Regions from separate parts of the Homo sapiens genome. Here regions 1 and 2 are each linked to region 3. The links are contacts of gene promoters, found by promoter capture Hi-C in blood cells and fetal thymus (Javierre and others, 2016). All regions are on one chromosome and are shown on one strand. Each heading gives the region's core, a stretch centred on a gene start or on the middle of the fragment in contact. The rest is flanking DNA. Distances are from core to core; before and after follow the strand shown. Region 1 overlaps TMEM131 (transmembrane protein 131). Region 2 overlaps TMEM131 (transmembrane protein 131). Region 3 holds the start of VWA3B (von Willebrand factor A domain containing 3B).

Region 1 (4,579 bases), core at 589-3,088, 160 kb after region 3:
GTCTTGTTCTGTCACCCAAGCTGGAGTGCATTGGCACTATCTCAGCCCACTGCAACCTCTGCCCCCTGGGCTCAAGCACAATGTCATTATCCTAACCAGAATTTCTTATCTTATGTTTTTCAGACTTGCTTCTAGGCACAGATTATTGACAAGCAAACCAGGAACTTTTACAGATTGTGATAAGAATTAAGATAGGGAATATAATAGAGGATAACTGGGCTGCTCTGAGAAGCCAAGGAGGGCCACACTGTGAGTGGGGTCAAGGCTGAGACTTGAAGGAGGAGAAGATGCCAGCCATAACAACAGCATGCTAGGCAAGGTGACTCTGTAACACAGCTTTGGGGACCCTCCTGAGGCCTGCCTGTGTGGCCCTTTCTTCTGTTCCTAGTTTTTGTAGAAGAAAGTTTAAAAATCGCTGATTTGACTAGTCCAGCCTTCTCCTTTTGTGGGTGAGGAGATTGTGAAGGCTAGAAGGTAAAGATATGCAATGACAACCTAGGTTCCTAATGCCTGATACCACCCCCCACAATATGGCATAAATTTTTCTACTAGTTATTTACAGCATTTGTTTTTTTCATGAGTTATTTTAGATGTATTAAAATTGCAAATTATATTTATTCATCAGTTGTAATATTCAGAAAAATACCTTCACCTAAAAGAAAAACAAAAACTTAGTAGACAAAGATTTGTCTTTAAAGTGAAAGATATTTTTAATCTTAACTAAATGAAATAGGGAAGTAAACAGTTTGTGAACTTCTGTTTTGAAAGCAAGTGTTCCTATTTTGAAACAACTGACACATTGACATTTTTACACTGATTATAAATGGCTTTGTTACTCACAGACAGCTTAGAGATGTGGGTCGGTGTGAGGAGCTTAAAGTAGATCTTACTGAGCCCAGCTTCAGAGTAAATATGAGTAGAATCGTAAAAGCCAGAAATGTAAATCCTTTTCTTTCCTTTGTAAATCTTCCTTTCCTCACTTATTGTCAGAAATATATGCCCAATTAAAAAAATTTGGTTGCTAAAAGGTGCTGTTAGTCATGAGCATTCTGTAAAGTTTATTTTGAAAATAAATAGGGATGGGTTTAGAAGCACAGATTCACATTGCCAGAATTCATACTTTTCTCTAGCCACTTTCTTGCTAAGTATATCTCTCTGTGTGTATTTCTTTACCTTAAAATGGATCATAATGTCTGTGTCATAGGGTTAGTTTGAATATTAACAACAGTGATCAGTAATTATTAGTTTATTTTTATTTCAATTACAGTTGTTTGATGCTTGAACTAGGGAACATCAGGAAAGTTTGGGATTCATTAACAGCATAAAATTAGGGGAAATATTTTTGGGAGAGGAAGCTGTTACTAGTTCTGGTTTTGAATCTGGAGATGTGATAACTTGACTGACTTTTGTTACATTTTATATTTTATAGCTTAATAACTGCATGTGAAATGATTAAGTCTGTATCTAGTGTTCTGTTTTTTGAGGCATATAATTGAAAGGTATTATAATTGGCTGTTTAAAGCAAAATACGTTAATTTGTTTTATGCCAGAGTTGAATCCTATTTATCTCTACATCTTTTAAGGAAAGCCAGTGATGTGTAACATAGTATTTTCCTTTTGAGACTTTATAATCAGCTGCTGTTATTAATTTTTTTAACTAACATTCATATTTTTAACATAACTCATACTTTTTAAAATATGAATTCATAATTCATAATAGAATTTTTATATATTTTTAAAGCTTCTGATTTAAAAAGCAGTATACCCAAACTACTGCCTTTATGTAGTTCTCTTCAGTTAGATCAGCATTTCTTCTGGCTCAATGGTGGGAACTCATTCAGTGGTCGTTCTATTGGAACTCTTAATAGCAGCCACCTATAGCTCGTTTCCAGTTGTTTCTTGTTGGTTTCCTCTGCCAATTAGACATAAAGCTTCTAATTAGAGGCCTTGACTTTATGTCTTTTACATTGTGAACATCTGGCTGTTCAGTTATTTCTTGTTAGTTCATTGTGTTCTTATGTTAATAAATTTGTCTTCAGTAGGGAATAACCAAAAAATTCTCTGGATCCTGTGAAATTTCAGTTTGTGTTAAAAAGTGGGGGGAACAGGTGAGGAATGGGATGGGTGAGCTGAGCAGAGCCTTTTATATTCATAGTCCTTTATTGTAATGAGTTTATCACTTTACTTAGAGACATTCTAAGTATACTGTGTCAGTAATTCTGTTGGAGCCATTAGCTCTGATCTTGATATTGAAATTCCACTATAAGCCAGGACTAGAGATAACATAACCAGAAAAAGGTCATTTGCATCAGTAAGTACAAATGCCAGTGCTTATTGTACCTGAGCAAAAAGGTGGGACATCATTCATGCTTTCAGTATTTATTGAATATTCTCTATATGCCACAGACTGGTTAGGGGATGAATAGAAGTGGAGCAGGTTGGCACTGTCATTGAAGAGAAACACAGGAAATGGAGGACAGGAGTTTTCCCAAAATAAAATCAGGATGTGACTGCTAGACTAAGGAGAAAAGGATGCTTGGCAGGCAGAAAAAACATCCAACGAGGTAATGTAATCTAATTAACTAGTATCTTATTCTGCTGCTTGACTGTCCACTTTTGTCATACCGGAACAGCCAGGTACATATGTGGGACAGTGAGTGTCTTCCCTGATTTCCAAAAGACCAACAAATGGGAGTCAGTGAATTCCATATTAAGCCAAATGAAATATCACATAGTTGAAATTCTGCATGTGAAAGTTGTCCCTTTTCTCCCATTTATTCAGCAATTTATAGCAATATGGGTTTATGGATATTTATTTTATACTTTGGGCTACATCTAGTACTTCTTCATTTTGTTGCTCAGATTGTTTCAGCTTTGGTCATTTGGGAGCTCTTTCTGTTGATTCTTACCTTCCTTTCTCTATCCCCATCAGTGTAGGATTTGGGTGGTTTTCTCTATTTTTTACTTTCCGGCACTATAGGATGCTCCATTCTCATCTCGTGTATTTCCTGCCCCTGTCCTCAAATCGGCCATTGCTCCAGGAAGCCCTGGTTTCTTTTATTGGAAAATAATATTAGAACACAAGATCTGAGTTCCAGGTGTGTTCTTTGCTATTGGCATGTCATTGCTTTAGGCTCTTAGAGCTGACAGAGCAAGGAAATACATGTATGTATACTAACCTATGAATATACACATCTATAAATATTCTTATATGTATGTAATAATGTATATGTTTCACTAAACATGAATTCTTACTGATATCACTGACTCTTAACCATTACCACCTGGATCATTTTGGCCTCCCCCGCCTTGTTTCTGTATAAATTGCTCTTCCAACAGTGAGACACCTGGCTCCCAGTATCCACCATCTGTGTACTTAATTGTTCGATTTCAGTGTACATGTATAGTGGCATCAGAATGGTTAACCCAAACTCCCATGGGAAAAAGCATTATTAACTAGAATACATTGCGTGTGTATGGTTTCTTTTGCCTTTAGTCTTACAGATTCTATTCATTTCCAGAATTACTTAGGTGAGCACTCTCCCCTCTCCCCCCACTTCAGTAAGGTTGATTCATTCATTTGTAATACAGTTAAATTGTTTTGTCATTTTATGCATTCCATCCTGGAGTCTCCCAGTCTTCTAAATAAATTTTTAAAATTTGCATACATTTAGATTCACTTTTTGTGCTGTGAAGTTCTGTTTTGACAAATGCATCATGTCCTGTATCCACCATTACAATTTGATAAAGAATGGTTTTACCACCCTAAAATATATTTGTGCTTCACTTATTCAACCTTTCCCATCTCCCCCTGATCTCCTAGCAACCACTGATCTTTTTACTATCTCCATAATTGTCCCTTTTCCAGAATGTCATGTACTTGGAAGCATACAGTATGTAGCCTTTTCTTTTAGTAATATTCCATTGTATAGATATACCACAGTTTGTCTGTTCACCTTTGATGGCCATCTTGACTATGCCCAGATTTTGGTGATTATGAATAAAGCTGCTTTAAGGAATTGTATGTAGATTTTTGTATGTAAGGTTTCAAATCAGTTCAGTCAATACCAGAAGCACGATCGCCAGATTGTATGGTATAACTATGTTAGCTTTTAAATATATTACCTTTGCATTGCTGTTTCTTGGATCAGAATAATCTTTTGCTATTTTCCCTGCCCACTTCCTCACCAAATCCCTTTGACTGTGGATCCCAGGTCATATCATCACTACAAAAAAGCAGATGATACCGAATTTCAGCTGATCATTTCTTGGGGGAAATATAATACTGTAGTGATCTTTTCTATATGCTTTTGATATTTTCAATTAATCTATCAGGGAAAATAATTAGTTGCATCTTGTTGAATTTGACTATTTTGTGCTTTCTCATAATATAACAGTAATGGATATTTTGAAGTTGATGCATATAGCCTGTAGGTTGTTGAAGTTACTTTATTATTTGTTTTATTTTAAAGTATTTCTTAGTTTGTAAAATTCTGAAGTATTAGTCATATTTTTCTTTTCAACCATCACCATTAAGCAGTCCATTTTTAGATATAAAATTATATTAATTAACTTTAAA
Region 2 (4,458 bases), core at 1,792-4,291, 140 kb after region 3:
TGACTGTTTTTAAATTGAAACATAGCTTATAATCAGTAGAGCACACACATCTTAGGTACGTAGCTTTTTAAATCTTTATATATGTATGTATTTGATTATAGTTAATGATTTTAACTATCATACAGACGAAAATGTAGACTATAAAGCCTTGCGAACACTTTTCATGGGGAAATACTTTTTTCCATTCACTGCTTTAATGAAGTGGTTAAATATTGGCTTGATAAGGTATCTATATGTATAGATGTATTTTTATTTTTTGTCTTGTGCTGAAATTTTGGATATTCTGTAAGAAAGACACGTAATGAGATTGGTAGCCATCATCCTCACAAAACATAGTGATGTGTTTCTCAGAAGGAGGATTTAGTAATGATAGGCCTTTGGGTTTGCAGGTACAAGAAATAAGGCAAGGAAAATGGTTGCAATTTTGGAGTAAGGCCTTCATGTAGTTGATGTGAGATGATGATTTGGAATCCTTCAGAAGCTATTGTATAAAAGTAACCAAAAGAAGCAAGCCCTGTGTGGGGTGTAAAAATAAATACTGACTTTTTTTTTTTTTTTTTTTTTTGAGACAGTCTCACTCTGTCGCCCAGGCTGGAGTGCGGTGGCATGGTCTCGGCTCACTGCAAGCGCTGCCTCCCAGGTTCATGCCATTCTTCTGCCTCACCCTCCCGAGTAGCTGGGATTACAGGTGCCCGCCACCACGCCCAGCTAATTTTTTTGTATTTTTTTTTTCAGTAGAGACGAGGTTTCACCATGTTAGCCAGGATGGCTCGATCTCCTGACCTTGTGATCCACCCGCCTCGGCCTCCCAAAGTGCTGGGATTACAGGCGTGAGCCACCACGCCTGGCCTTGACTTTTAATAAACAGATTTATTGAGGTATAATTAATGTACAATAAACTGCACACATTTAAAGTGTACAGTTTGAGTTATGGCCCATGTGAAACTATTACCATAGTGAAGATTGTGTGAACGTGTGCACTCTCTATTTCCTTGTGACCCTTTGTAGAATTTTCTTACCTCCCTTCCTAATCCCAGGCGACAGTTCTTCTGCTTTCTGTCACTTAGATTAGTTTGCATATTATACAACTTTGTATAAGCAGAATCATACAGTATTTACTCTTCTGTTGTCTCCCTTCTTTCACTCAGCATGATTATTTTTAGATTTGTCTGTAATGTTGCATGTTTGACTGTTTTAGTACTGCATAGTATTCCACTGTGTTGCTGTATCACAATTTGTTTATCCACCCACCCGTTGATGGGAATGTGAGTTGTTTCCTCTTTTGAACTATTACAAATAAAGCTTCCCTAAATATTCATGTACAAGTCTTTCATTTTCATTCACACATACGTTTCATTTCAGTTGGGCAAATACCTAGAAATGGAATGTCTGGTGGGTTATGTGTTCAACTTTTTCAGAAACTACTGGCCTGGCACGGTGGCTCACGCCTGTAATCCCAGCACTTTGGGAGGCCGAGACGGGCAGATCACGAGGTCAGGAGATCGAGACCATCCTGGCTAACATGGTGAAACCCCATCTCTACTAAAAATACAAAAAATTAGCCGGGCGTGGTGGCGGGTGCCTGTAGTCCCAGCTACTTAGGAGGCTGAGGCAGGAGAATGGCTTGGACCTGGAAGGCGGAGCTTGCAGTGAGCCGAGATCACACCACTGCACTCCAGCCTGGGCGACAGCGCGAGGCTCCGTCTCAAAAAAAATAAATAAAAAAAAAAGAAACTACTGACATGTTATCCAAAGTGGTTGCACCATTTTATATTCCCGTTAGCAGGGTATTACAGTTCCACTTCCTGCACATCCTTGCCAACACCTGATATGGTAAGAAGTTTTCATCTTAATCATTTTATTGGTTATGTAGTGGTGTCTCCTGGTGTTTTAATTTTTATTTTCCTAATGACTAAGGATTTTGAGCATCTTTTCATGTGCCCTCTTATTTCATGTGCTATTCATGTTGTCTTTGCTTAAATGTCTGTTCACATCTTTTTTGCATTTTTTTAAATTGAGCTGTTTGTTTTCTTATTTAGTTGTAACAGTTATTTACATATTCTGGATACAAGTCCTTTGTCAGATAAGCATTTTGCAAATATTATTTCCAGTCTGTGGCTTGTATTTTTACTTTTGTAACAGTGTCTTTTGAGGAGTAAAAGCTAAAAAAAAAATTTTTAATCCACCTCTCAATTCATCTTTTTTTCTTTTATAGTTCAAGATTTTTTTCTTTTTTGTATCCTACTTAAGAATATCTTTGCCAAACTCAAGATCACTAAAATTTTCCCGTGTTGATTTCTAGGAACTTTAGAATTTTAGCTCTTACATAAATTCTGTTATTCATTTCAAGTTGATTTTTGTAAATTTTGGAGCATCCAGATTCTCTTTTGTTTTTCTTTCCCATGTGGCTATTCATTTGTACCAGCATGACTTATTGAAAAGATTACTTTTCCCCAATTGAATTGCCTTGGCACCCTGTTGCAATCAGTTGACCATATATGTGGGGGTCTACTTTTGGAGTCTCTGTTCTATTTCACACATCTGTTATCTGTGTCAGTTTTATACCATCTTGATTACTATGATTTTAAGTCTTAAATCAGGCAATGTTGAGTCCTCCAATCTTGTTCTTCTTTTTCAAAATTCTTTTTACTATTTTGGGTCCTTTGCTTTTCTGTATAACTTTTAGAATCATCTTGTAAATTTTTACAACAAAAAACTTGATTGGAATTGTATTGACTGTCTAGATCAATTTGGGGAAAATTGCTGTAACAATATTGGTTCTTTTGATGCATGAACATGGTATATCTTTCTTTTTATTTAGGTGTTCTTTAATTTCTTCCAGCTGTATTTTGTCAAATATTTATCTTAGTATTTTGATGCAATTGTAAATGGTTTTGATTTTTATTTTCCAGTTGTTCCTTGCTGTTATTAGAAATATGATTGATTTTTATATGTTGGCCTTGCATTTTCCTACTTTCCTAATCTTACTACTTTCCTATATCCTGTATCACCTGTAAAAATTGTACCAGAATCAAAAAAATTCTAGTAGAATTTTTATAGGTGTTATAGGAGATATCATGTCTGTGTCTAAAGACAGTTTTATTTTCTCTTTTCCAGTCTACATACTTTTTTTTTCTTTGCGTTTTATTGGCACGAAGATTGCCCTCTTACCTTCATTTATTCTTTCACTATGATGTTAAATAGGAGTGGTGAGAAGGAACAATCTTACCTTGTTCTAATCTTAAATGGAAAGTATTTAGTCTTTCACCATTAAGTATGATGATAGCTGTATATCTTTTGTACATGTCTTTTATCAGCTTAAGGAAGTTCTTTTTGTGCCCATTTTGCCAAGATCTTTTACCATGAATGGATGATGAATTTTGTCCAATGTTTTTTGTCTGTTTTTTGAAATGATTAATTTTGTTTTTTAAGTCTTATATGTTGAAGTTTTTTTTTTGAATATTTAAACAGTATTTCATTCCTGGGATAAATCCCACTTGGTCATGATGTTTTTATCTTTTTTATACATTAATGGATTACATTTGCTGAAATTTTGACAAGAATTTTTGCATCTGTAATAAGATGTGAAATTGGTCTGTAGTTTTTTTGTTTTAATACCCTTATTTGTTTTGGGGATCAGAGTGATGCTGGCTTTGTAAAATGAGTTTGGAGAGTTTCTCCTGTTTCTGGGAGAGTTTGCGTATGATTTTTTTTTTCCCCTTAAATATTTGGGAGAACTCATCGTTAAATACATCTAATCCTGGAGTTATCTTTGTGAGAAGATTTTAACTACAAAATAAGTTTCTTAAGTACATATAAGCCTATTCAAGTTAGCTAGTTTTTTGTGAGTGACCTTTGGTATTTTGAGTCTTTGAAGGAATTTGTCCGTATCATAAACTGAGAGTTGTTAATTATATTTGCTGATTAGTCTTCTAATGTTTATAGAAAGTATAGTCGTATTCAGTCTCTCATTTCTTATGTTCACAATACCTGGCTTCTCTTTTTTCAAACTGACTAGCTAGATGTTTATCAATTTTGTTAATCTTCCCAAACAGAAAACTTTTGTTTCCTTCGATTTTTCTCTATTTTCTGCTTTCTACTTTATTGATTTATATTCTTTATTATTTCTTTTCTTTTTTTATTAAAAAACAAGATATGGATTACTTATCTAATATTTAGAATGTGATCTTATAGATTATATATGAGTATGCAATATAGATAACTGTATGGATATACCATATTTCCAATCATAAATATTATATTACAAGATGTAATGCAAGATAAAATCCCTGCACAATAGCTGTGTTGGCATAAGCATCATTTTAACTGAGTGTTTTAAGATGGTTGTAATACCACTGAGTGTTTTAAGATGGCTATAATACCACTGTAGTCACAGACATGTCAGCAGCATGTTCTTGGCACATTTAATCTGTGGCTACAGTAAGGATACCAACCTCC
Region 3 (4,066 bases), core at 541-3,040:
CATGGTGAAACCTCGTCTCTACTAAAAATACAAAAATTAGCCGGGCATGGTAACACACACGTGTAATCCCAGCTACTAGGGAGGCTGAGGCAGGAGAATTGCTTGAACCCAGGGGGCAGAGGTTGCAGTAAGCCAAGATTGCACCACTGCACTCCAGCCTGGGGGACAGAGCGAGACCCTGTCTCAAAAAAAAATAAAGGGGGATATATTATTTTCTGATAAAACTATGCTATTTATTTATTTATTTACTATTATTCAGAGTTTCCTCAGCTGAGGTTATTATAAATTGGGGAACCAAGTAACCCAGAAGTCGGAAACAACAACATACCGGAGTTGAGCATTGCCCTAAGTTTTAGAGGCCATCCCAAGAACCATACATAGAGTTTGGATAGGAAAGTATTTCCTTAGAAGAAGGAGGAAGTGTAAAAGGAAAAACAAGGAAGTGAAAGTCTGAGCTGAAAATGTGGGCAGGCAAAGCTTTGGGGAAAATAGAAAGGTTAAGCTGGCAACTGTACAAGGGCCCCGTCTACTGGAAGCAGATGCTCCTGGGCTGCCCTGGGCGACAGTCTTGTGAAGTCAGCATGCCCTCAGAGAAAAGGTCCTATGTGCTCGGAGGTTCAGGGACAGTGCAGGGTTGAGAGTCCATTAATCCAGTTTAGACATTCAATAAGCTTCTAGCTACTTTATTATCAACACCCCAAACTTCCTATACCCCTGTTAGTTTCTGAAAAAGAAGTCTGGGCTAGGTGGATATATATCTTGTGATTTAGGTGAATTTGTGAACGATGATTTTTCCAGGAAGAAAGGAAACTGGGACGAAGCTTCATGATGGATCCTGATGCAACTCTTCCCCAGAAACCCTTAAACCTCCTCCCATTTTTTCTGCCCTTAAGGGACAAGGCTTGGCTGTGATCATTGGCTCAAATAATGTGGACAGAGACAAGGATATTGAAACGGACTGTCCCACCGTTGAGAAAATAGTCAAGAAGGCAATATCTGAGAATAATTGGAGTGCTTTAGGAGGAAGGTCATTGCTGAGAAGAAACAGAGCTTCCAAGAAAATGAAAGGAAAAGCTCTACCAAATGGAAACTAAATCTACTTATTAAGTCTTATTTCCATATAAGGAGGGTGAAAGAAACTGATATGATTGTGAAACCATGTAAGTGTTGCTTTGGCTTTTAGACTATACATATTTATCCTTATGTTCAGGAAATGTGTTTCTTCTGGTTCCCATGTTCCCTCCAAAGCCCAGGTGGACTTCATCACCTTGAACTGCTGGCCTATGGCATAGACAGAAACTAGGAAAACCGCTTTTCCACCAGAGCGGCTGGGCGTGGGCTCGGGTGAGGTGTGATGGAAAGAGCTCTAGAGTAGGAGGGGTCGGTACCTTGACCCTCGGCTTGCCCTGGGTAGCGGACGATTAAGTGGGCCAGGGCAAGTCACCGAGCTTTCCTGGTACTGTTTCCGCATCTGTAAAGTGGGCGTGTAGTCCACCTCAGAAATGGCATTTTTCCAAGACCTCCCTAGGCCGCTTGTTGGAAGGCTCGGCACCTCGGCGGCTCTCGTGCGGCAGGCATCGCTCCCACACTTACTAGGCAATATGTCGGGTGGAAGACGTGGCGGCTCCCGCTCAGCAGCCACCCTCCCATCCTCCCGGGCCCGCCTGACCCGAGAGGGCGGGCGAGGTAAGCATCCCGCTGGTGGATAAGGCAGCGATTCCGGCGGGCGAAGGCTGCGCGCCGGGGGCGAAGGATTCCAGCTGTTCTAGGTCTCTGTGACCCGCGCCTCTGGTTCCGAGCGCGGTCTGTTGACGACGGCGTCTCCGCGGTTGCCTGGACACGGCCAATCACAGCGCGGCTCCTGGAGCCGGCCCCGCCCACAGACCGCGCCCTCACTGGGGCGATGGCTGCGGACCGTGGCCAAGAGGGCGGGGCGCCGAGGCCGTCACCGAGCCAGGTGCGGAAAGCCGGCGTCCGGAACCACCCGGGCCGGGACGACCTCCACCCCAGACCCCCAAACAGAGGCCACGCTAGAGGGACAGGGCGAGTGGCGTTGCCCCTTGCGCCTACTGTCAATGGGAAAATTAACAACAGCGGAGAATATGAATGAAAGAATGAATGAATTAACAAACAAATACACTGATGAGCTGGGGTAGAAATATAGGGTGCGAGCAGACAGGGGAGGAAGGCGCCAGAGGCCGAGGAGAGGCGAGGAGACTGCGGGAAACGCTACAAACGAACTTCTTTTCATACTTTTCAGCAGAGCATTGACCCCTGTGTAGTTTTAATTTTCACCTCACCACTGTCAGGCGATGCTCTCTTCCTTGCACAGTTCAGAGAAAGACGCTTTAAAAGAGGTGGGGCAGTTCGTTGTAGCTCAGCCACTGGACGTGGGCGGAGCTGAGACAGACAGAAGGGACAGGGAGCTGCAATTTTGCAATTGTGGAGGCAGGGGCTGCAGTTGCCAAGAATATTCTTACCTGTTTGACATGAATATTTCTATAGGCATTATTTTCTCCATTCAGCTTTGTTTTTAACCTTTGTTTCAGTGTTACCTTATCAATTAAGCAAAAGGCTCTAAATATTTTCCTATTTTTCCAGTCACCAGGAAATAAAATTGTGCTTATGAAAAGTATCTTTAAAGTCTTAATAAAAGACCCCACAGTAAGTATTGTTTTTAGGGTATTGGGATAGTAAACGATTTTAGATTTTAAAATTATAGAACTGACCAGATCATTTGCAGGTTTTTCAAAGAACTAATAAAACATAGTTAATGTTAGAACTGAGTAATTCTGTCCCCCCAAAAAAAGTCTGCTTCATCCACAGGAATTTATTTCTCCTGCATTCTTTTAATGCCTCTATCATTTAAAAAGTACTGAAAGATTTCATTCCATATCACAAATCATTCCTGGCAGTTATTAGTTTATATATATTTGGCCCTGCAAATGAAACCTGCCATCCACACCACCAAAAAACAAGCAAAAGCTTGATAGTACTGAAGACTGTTCAGAAGGGAGTAAAACACCAGCCTCGCCCATGTTTGCCAATGACCCATTAATCCTTGCTGTCCACACCCTGCCACACTAATATTCTTGGGTCACGGGGGTGAGACAGAGCACACAGCAACACATAGCCAAATGCCCTGCCTCACATGGTCACGCCAGGCACTCTTGTTCCCACCTTCACCCCATGCCTGCTCCTTTCCCTAGGACACTTGCCACATACGTGCAAGTCACCAAGATGATCTGTCCCTATCTTTCGTGTTTATGTGTCTATAAGCATACATTCTGTTGAAAATGTGAAACATTACTTACTTAAATTGTAGAATGATAAGTGAGTAGAAGTTTAAGGTTATTTTGAAGCATTAAATAGTTGGTATGGACTTCAGTTTAGCTAGTTACAGAATGGTTTGCCTCATTTTTATTGAGTTATTTGAAATAAGAAAACCTTTAGCACAGTGGTGATACACTACTATACTGAACTTTTGACAAATTTGTTTTGAGTTTACATTTTTACAGATAATTTGTATCTTTCCTTAAACCTCAGTAAGCGACATTGATCAAATCACTGCCATCTTTGATGTCAAACTTCTGGACTTTACCATTAAGGGCTCAAATTATACTTTCAGACTTTTGCTCATTGCCTCCAACACAAACCCCCATCCCAGAGAGACCCACCTGGTCCCTGCCTCTGAGCACAGATGACTTTACTCAGGCCACCCAGATTACCACAGTTTGGGAATCACCGTCCCTTCAGGGTCAGCTCTAGCTCTTCTCTCTCTCCCCAAAGCCCTCCCATGGATGCTGCGGCCCTAATAACTTCTCTCTACCTGTACAGTCTCAAAGCATTGCTTGCCAGTACCACACTCTTGGCAACCATGTACAAGCCTTTGACAAGCCTTTCGTTGTTATTTGACCTTTGTGCTGTTTACTTTTCAGGTTCAATGGGTTTTCCTTTTCTTTATACAAGTCTATCACTGCCACTGCTTGGGCTTATGGCCATGATCAGAATGTTTGGTGGAGGAGGGAGGGTGATAAAGGAAATGAAGGGAGGAAAAGCATTTTCC

Evidence for each region. The method cuts DNA at HindIII sites, captures the fragments that hold promoters and counts their contacts. A CHiCAGO score of 5 or more calls a contact.
Region 1: a fragment that was not itself captured here is called in contact with the fragment with the promoter of VWA3B in region 3 in 3 of 17 cell types (total B cells, naive B cells and monocytes); the score reaches 12.0 in total B cells.
Region 2: a fragment that was not itself captured here is called in contact with the fragment with the promoter of VWA3B in region 3 in 1 of 17 cell types (monocytes); the score reaches 5.9 in monocytes.

Annotation. Positions count from the first base shown.
Region 1 is chr2:97,927,555-97,932,133 of GRCh38, reverse strand. The region is part of intron 1 of TMEM131 (transmembrane protein 131); the gene reads left to right. Among named protein-coding and RNA genes, the nearest start is that of TMEM131, 66 kb to the left of the region's middle. The HindIII fragment of the contact is 190 bases long and covers 1,744-1,933 here.
Region 2 is chr2:97,945,925-97,950,382 of GRCh38, reverse strand. All of the region lies in intron 1 of TMEM131 (transmembrane protein 131), which reads left to right. Among named protein-coding and RNA genes, the nearest start is that of TMEM131, 48 kb to the left of the region's middle. The HindIII fragment of the contact is 3,474 bases long and covers 1,305-4,458 here.
Region 3 is chr2:98,084,891-98,088,956 of GRCh38, reverse strand. It overlaps VWA3B (von Willebrand factor A domain containing 3B), which reads right to left and starts at 1,790. Exons shown (of 28, transcript NM_144992.5): 1 at 1,594-1,790. RefSeq lists enhancers at 1,061-1,561, 1,596-1,665, 1,562-2,062. The HindIII fragment of the contact is 2,164 bases long and covers 824-2,987 here.